2 separate regions of the Homo sapiens genome follow, and region 1 is linked to region 2. Evidence: promoter capture Hi-C in 16 types of primary human blood cells and fetal thymus (Javierre and others, 2016). All regions are on one chromosome and are shown on one strand. The core of a region is centred on a gene start or on the middle of the fragment in contact, and the rest is flanking DNA. Distances in the headings are between cores, read along the strand shown.

Region 1 (3,242 bases), core at 115-2,614, 250 kb before region 2:
CTTGAAAATATATAATTTTTCTTTTCTCTTTTCTTTGTTTTCATGAAAAATCCATTTATGTAAACCTGATAGCCTATGTAATGTACCATGCCAGAGACTACATGAAGGAAAAATACCGAAGGAGATATAGAAAGAAGGTCAAGGTGGGAGAGGTGTGGAGAAGTGATGACCTTGGCTTTTTCATGCTGAGATCCATTAAGCTCAACTTGATAATAGCATTCATGGGCTGGAAATTACAAACAGAGGCAAGAATAACAAAAAATAAATAAAAGTACATTCTTTAATATGTTAGAATATTAACACAAGCCTTTTATTATGCTCTGTTGTCATTAAGAAAACACCACTCATTATCTAACCATAACCCAAATTGACAACAGTGTTCTAATAATGGTCCCATAATACTTTATTCAACCTTTGACAAGTAGTAAAACATTGAGCAAATTATTTAGTTGTCTTATCCTGGTTATTTCATTTGTAAAATGGTGCCAATAAGCGTTAAGATTGGAAATAGGAGTGTATGCCTGTGGAGTCTGACAAGCTCAACTTGCAAACTCACCTTTTGTGCACAACCCCAAGCTGATGTGAATTATTGTTGGATGCCTTGTATGTCTTTCTTCTCCAAAAGTAGAGTAAATTTCTTAAAAAACAGGGACAGTGTCCCAATAACAGGGTCTGTCTGTTGCTGGGCTGAGGGCAAGGAAAGCACCATACTTTCACAACAATGTGCCTTCTAATGTCTTTCATTACACAACTAAAGGAATGCAAACATCTCTTTAAAAAAGTAAATGAACACATTCATTCAAATTTGGATATAAATAAATGATTTTAGTGCTTTGGCTGAGAGTAAGTAAAGTAAAAACTGGCAGGAGCAAGAGGGCACTGGGTATCTGAGGGCATTAGCAGTGGTGGGGTGTGCGTCACAAGGGTGCACAAGTCAGAAAGTGGGGGAGTGGCATCCCCGGGACAAGTGTCACTGAATTCACAATTTTGCTTAAGGACACCCTTAGGAAACTGTGCTGTGTAACCTACCTAATCTAAATGTTTATATTTGTAACTTTCAAAATATTTTGCCTGTTTTTTTTTTTATTTTATTTTATTTTTTGAGACGGAGTCTCACTCTGTCGCCCAGGCTGGAGTGCAGTGGCGTGATCTCGGCTCACTGCAAGCTCCACCTCCCGGGTTCACGCCATTCTCCTGCCTCAGCCTCCCGAGTAGCTGGGACTACAGGCATCCACCACCATGCCTGGCTAATTTTTTGTATTTTTATTAGAGACAGGGTTTCATTGTGTTGGCCAGGATGGTCTCAATTTCCTGATCTCCTGACCTCGTGATCCTCCTGTCTCGGCCTCCCAAAGTGCTGGGATTACAGGCGTGAGCCACCACGCTCAGCCACCTGGTTCTCTTTTTAATGTTCTTTGGCAGGGAACACCCATAGCTTGTAGAGAAGGGGAAACGCTGTTGCCAAATACATATGTCTTGGGATTTTCCTAAATTGTGTTTGTCTTAGCAGAGTAGTGCTCGCAAGATTTCAAGGCCTTCAGATTTCTTGACTGGATAGATACATGGTTTTATTTTATTTTATTTATCTATTTATTTATTTATTTATTTTTGAGACAGAGTTTCTCACTCTGTTGCTCAGGCTGGAGTGCAGCGGCACAATCCCGGCTCACCTCAACCTCCACATCCCAGGTTCTAGCAATTCTCCTGTCTCAGCCTCCTGAGTAGCTGGGATTACAGGCATCTGCCACTACGCCTGGCTAATTTTTGTATTTTTAGTAGAGACAGAGTTTCACTATATTGGCTGGGCTCTTCTCAAACTCCTGACCTCAAGTAATCCACCGGCCTTGGTCTCCCAAAGTGCTGGGATTACAGGCGTGAGCCACCATGCCCAGAGATACATGGTTTTAATAGATGTGAAAACAATTTAGGATCTTGGAGGGATAGTACAAAAGGTCTATAGCATCGTGGTCTGAAACATACACTCTTCCATTCACAGCTGGGTTCAAGCCTTGATAAACTCAACCCATAGTACACAAAACCACTAAGAAAGGGAAGCCTTCTTATCACATCCCCTCCCCAGTAAGCCACAGATAATCTCATAGAGGCTCCTGGTCAGTGGCTGATGGAAACTGGGACCTGGCATGTTGAGAATGAAAATTCATAGGAATTAATAATAGAAGTGGAATATGCCCTAGCATTTCATAGAGTTAAAATAAATTTCCTATGTGTAGTCAGTTGAATAAAGAAAATGCAGAGATGAGCAGCAATGAGGTATGCAGTCCTAAAACTGCAAACTCTAGTTACATTTTATTGATGAGCATTATCAGATCCTCATGGTGTCTTCTTGGTTTTAGTGCAAATGTCAGTTTTTAATCTCCAGAGGTCCACAAATCTAAAGACTTTAAAGTCCTTAAGAAAATTTTCTTATTCTTTTCTTCTTTCTTGGAAGACAAAACTTTAAAACCTGATAAGAGTTTCTTTATTGTTTTGGGATAAGCAGATATTTATTATACATTTGTGAAGTTGGGACAGCCTGTCATAGTACAACAGATTCACACCTGCAAAGTTTTGGGTAAAGAGAATTTGTGTTAAGCAGATTATATTTTCCATGAACACCTTTTACACTTGTGTTTGTACTGCATGCAGCCCGACTCTACTTGGAGACTTTCCTATGCTTCGTCTCTTAGATAATCAAGCTAATTATTTCTGATAAGACACTTAATGATATATTTCTTAGGCATATCATAGTCTTTTACGTTGTTGAACAAGGTATCAATTAAGCAAGTAATTGGTAAAAGATGTAGATAGCAGTAGAATTTTAAAAATATATTTAGGTCAGAATTTTATAGGAAAAGGGCCTCATTAAACAAGCTTACAGCTAGACAGGGGGAATAAATTCTAGTGTTCTATACCACTGTAGAATGATTATACTTAACAATAATATATAGTTTCAAATAGCTAGAAGGAGAGTATTCAATGTTCCCAACACAAAGAAATGATAAACGTTTGAGATGATGGATATGCTAATTACCCTGATCTGATCACTGTATATCACATATATCAAAACATCACTAGGTACTCTATAAATGTGTACAATTATTATTTGTCAATTAAAAATAAAATTTAAAATAAATAGAATTGATAAAGAATTATCAAGGTGGTCTGGATAAAAAACTGTTTCATTGGGAAAAATAGTTGGCAAACTTGGCTATTCACTTGGAGGAAATGAAAGGAAATCTGAA
Region 2 (3,433 bases), core at 771-3,270:
GACTCGCTTGAACCCAGGAGGCGGAGGTTGCAGTGAGCCGAGATGGCACCACTGCACTCGAGCCTGGGTGACATAGCAACACTCCATCTCAGGAGAAAAGAAAAGAAAAGAGAAAAAAGAAAAGTAGATCGAGTAGATCGAATAACATTTGCTGACAGATTGTGTGTCAGGTGTGAGAGAAAAGCAAGAGTTAGGGGCAACTCTAACATTCTGAGCCGAAAATCTAGAAGGAGTGAGTCACATTTACTGAAATGAAAAGGACTGAGAGGAGCAGGTCTTGGGATGGAGGATAAGAAACGTTTACTCAGCCTTGTGAGGCAAAAAGAAGATGGTAAAAAGGTGGCAATTTTCTCTATATGATTTTCCCAATTTATGGTGTTAGAATCTGGCCATATGGCTAACCCAATCAATCCTGGTGGTTTGGTTGAAATGGCCTAAAAAGAAGATTTACATGGTAATGAGATTTCTCCACTGGGGTCAAGGATCAGAGGTGGTGGTGGGCCTAAAGAGTACAAAATGGCAAAGAGGTAAATAATTAATTTTTATTAGATAAATAATGATGAGATTAGAAAAACTCTAATTCTAATCCCATTTCTGTTGTAAAATACAGCAGATTCTCTGAACTGTTTACACAATGGCTAACTCTAAAGAGAGATATTTTAGTGCCTGGCTCTGAAGTCTTGGGACCCATTTATGCATTCACCCATTTACCTTCCTAAACTATTTCTGCTCTGCCTATGCAGCCATTCTCCAGCTATTCCAATTAAATATCAACTAACTGGCTTCTCTGTGAGTGAGACAAAGCCAGAAAAATTGACCCTTAGTTATTGGTATGTTAGTTTTGTAGCCTTCAGATAGCACTGAGCTATTAAGGTATGGGCTACAAGATCTGGAAGTAAGCCCCATCACTGCTACCTATGATCTTGAGCAAGTCACTCTACCCATGAGAAGCCACCTGTCGCTTCCCAAAAAAATGAAAACAGCACTTACTCCACGACAAGACTGGACAAATAAATATGCAATTGCATATAAAAGCTTTTGTAAACTGAAGGTACTTATTATCATGAATAGCTCTGCTTCCACAAATCCTGACCTAAGACACTGGGAATGCAGAGGCTTCTCTCTCATTTCAGAAGCAGGACAACAGAGAGAAAACAGAGATGATGACTCAGCTTCTCTCTCCTCTCAGTAATGGATGAGACTGATGAATTTCTTCAAGAAATATATTTGTAAATGAGATGTCTAAGTGGAGATTGCTTTACACTCACCCCTAAGTCTCAACCGAGGAGTTGTTAGTGAATATGATGGGCCAGTGGAGGGGTTGGGTTTTGTTTCCCCACTAAATATAACCAGAGGCTTATTCTTATATTTTTCTTTAACAATCGGAATAATTATCTATTTGCTTTCCTTTTCCTCCAAATACAAATTGGAAAAATAAAATTTTTATAAAGAGAAACTTGTTACATATTTCTAGATCCATTGAGGACTTCCTAGCTCTCCTAGAAAGTCTGGTCTAACTATCTTCTCTTTCCGCATTTTTATCTTTCAGAAAATGCAATTTCTCACAAAGCACCAAAAAATATTTCTCCCCCAGAGAATCACAATACAGTATTAGGAAGGAAAGTGTTCAGTAATCCCACCACTGGGTTTCAAGTAATTTCAAGACTTTAATAACACAAAAATTGAACTCACCTAAATTGATTTCTGAAATATCCTTCTGTTCACCAAAATCTGCATCATGTACTGTTAAAAGTGAGAAAAAAAATTATTATTAGTCTTGCCGAAGGAAAAAAGTTCAAAAACACTCTCTGTGCATTTGAACTAATTCTTACCATTTTCTTCAGGAAGATACTTAATCTGAAAAAAATAAATATACAGAAAATGGATAATGTATACTAGAATTAATATTTCTAAATATCCAAAAAGCAGGACTCGACTTACCGGTACAGCTGCTATGTGGGCAAAAAGCAAGGTAAAAAAGAGAATGCAAGTGGATCTAATCCAAGCCATTGCTGCAAGTGAGCTGATTTTAGCACACACCTTGTCATAAATACCGTTTAGACTTTACCCTGACGGTCGTATTAGAAACTTTGACCCTTCCATATGTACCGTAGTGCCAATAAAGGTTGTCAAAGATAACATCATTGACTCTTTCGAGGACAAACACTAAGTTTACCTTAAATGCTTAAGCTCCAAAGACTGGGGAAAAGTTTGAAAAATTAATACGGAAATGAGCATATAAGAACTAATAACATTCCTATAGGGCAGCCATAGCCATTCATATCATAAAACAGGATAGACGATCCCCTTAACAATAAAAATAAAAATAATTTATAAAATTATTATTATTTAATTCTAATAAAATATAAATTCAAATTTTATGGAAATGTTATAAAGCAATTATTGAAGGACATAAAAATACCTGACTCTCTCTCTATATGTACATATGTATGAAATATTAATAGATTGTTTTAATATTAATCTATAAATTCATTGTCATTCTAGTAAAAAATCTAACAGGGTTTTCAGTGGAACTTGCCAAGCTGACAAATGGTTCAATTCGCATGAAAGAGTAAACATTGAAGAATAGATAAGAAAATTCTGAAAAGGCTGAATAAAGAGAAAAGAATTGCCTCAAAAGAATATCAGGAGCTTTGGTAAAGTTACAGTAATTAGAGTGTAATAGTTCCAAAAATAAAGATAAAATGAATCTATAGACTGGAATAGGTAATATCCAAATAGATGCAAGCATATGCAGGGCTTTTATGTATAAGAGGAACCAAAAAGGCAAGAGGGAAACTTGGGTCTCTTTCATAATAATGTGGGAATAATTGCATTTCCATATGAGGAAATACATTAAATGTACACCTGATACCATTGACAAAAATAAATTCTAGATAGATTAAAAATTTAAATATGAAAATATAAACTTCAAAAAAGAAAATATAGGAACATATTTTTAACCTTTAGGTCAAGAAAGATTGCTTAAACATGAAAAAAACATAGAAATTACAGAGGAAAAGAATAATACATTTGACTGTATCAAAATTTAAACTTCTTTATGACAAAAACATAACATGATTAAAAGACAAGCCACAGGTGAGAGATGATATGTATACTGCATATAATTGAATAAGAATAAGTATTCAGGATATGTAAAGAATTTCTACAAATCAATAAAAAGAACAGGAGATTATCTAAGGAAAAAATGAACAAAAAATATGAGTAGCAAATTCACAAAAGACCCAGATGGCCAATAAATATGTAAAAAGATTTTTAGCCTCGTAAGTAATCAGAAAAATTATAGGTTCAAATAGCAGTAAAATACCACCTCAAGCTAAGATTGGCATAAATTAAGAAGACTGACAATATCAAGTGTCAACAAGAAGGTAAGAAAATAGGAAATCTAGTAGGACATCAATTTGATGCTATC

The links. The method cuts DNA at HindIII sites, captures the fragments that hold promoters and counts their contacts. A CHiCAGO score of 5 or more calls a contact.
Region 1: a fragment that was not itself captured here is called in contact with the fragment with the promoter of MEP1A in region 2 in 1 of 17 cell types (M2 macrophages); the score reaches 5.5 in M2 macrophages.

Annotation. Positions count from the first base shown.
Region 1 is chr6:47,038,332-47,041,573 of GRCh38, reverse strand. All of the region lies in intron 1 of ADGRF1 (adhesion G protein-coupled receptor F1), which reads left to right. Among named protein-coding and RNA genes, the nearest start is that of ADGRF1, 2.4 kb to the left of the region's middle. The HindIII fragment of the contact is 3,019 bases long and covers 1-2,873 here.
Region 2 is chr6:46,791,976-46,795,408 of GRCh38, reverse strand. MEP1A (meprin A subunit alpha) reads right to left here and starts at 2,020. Exons shown (of 14, transcript NM_005588.3): 1 at 1,942-2,020; 2 at 1,833-1,857; 3 at 1,693-1,743. The coding sequence starts at 2,010. The HindIII fragment of the contact is 4,281 bases long and covers 1,038-3,433 here.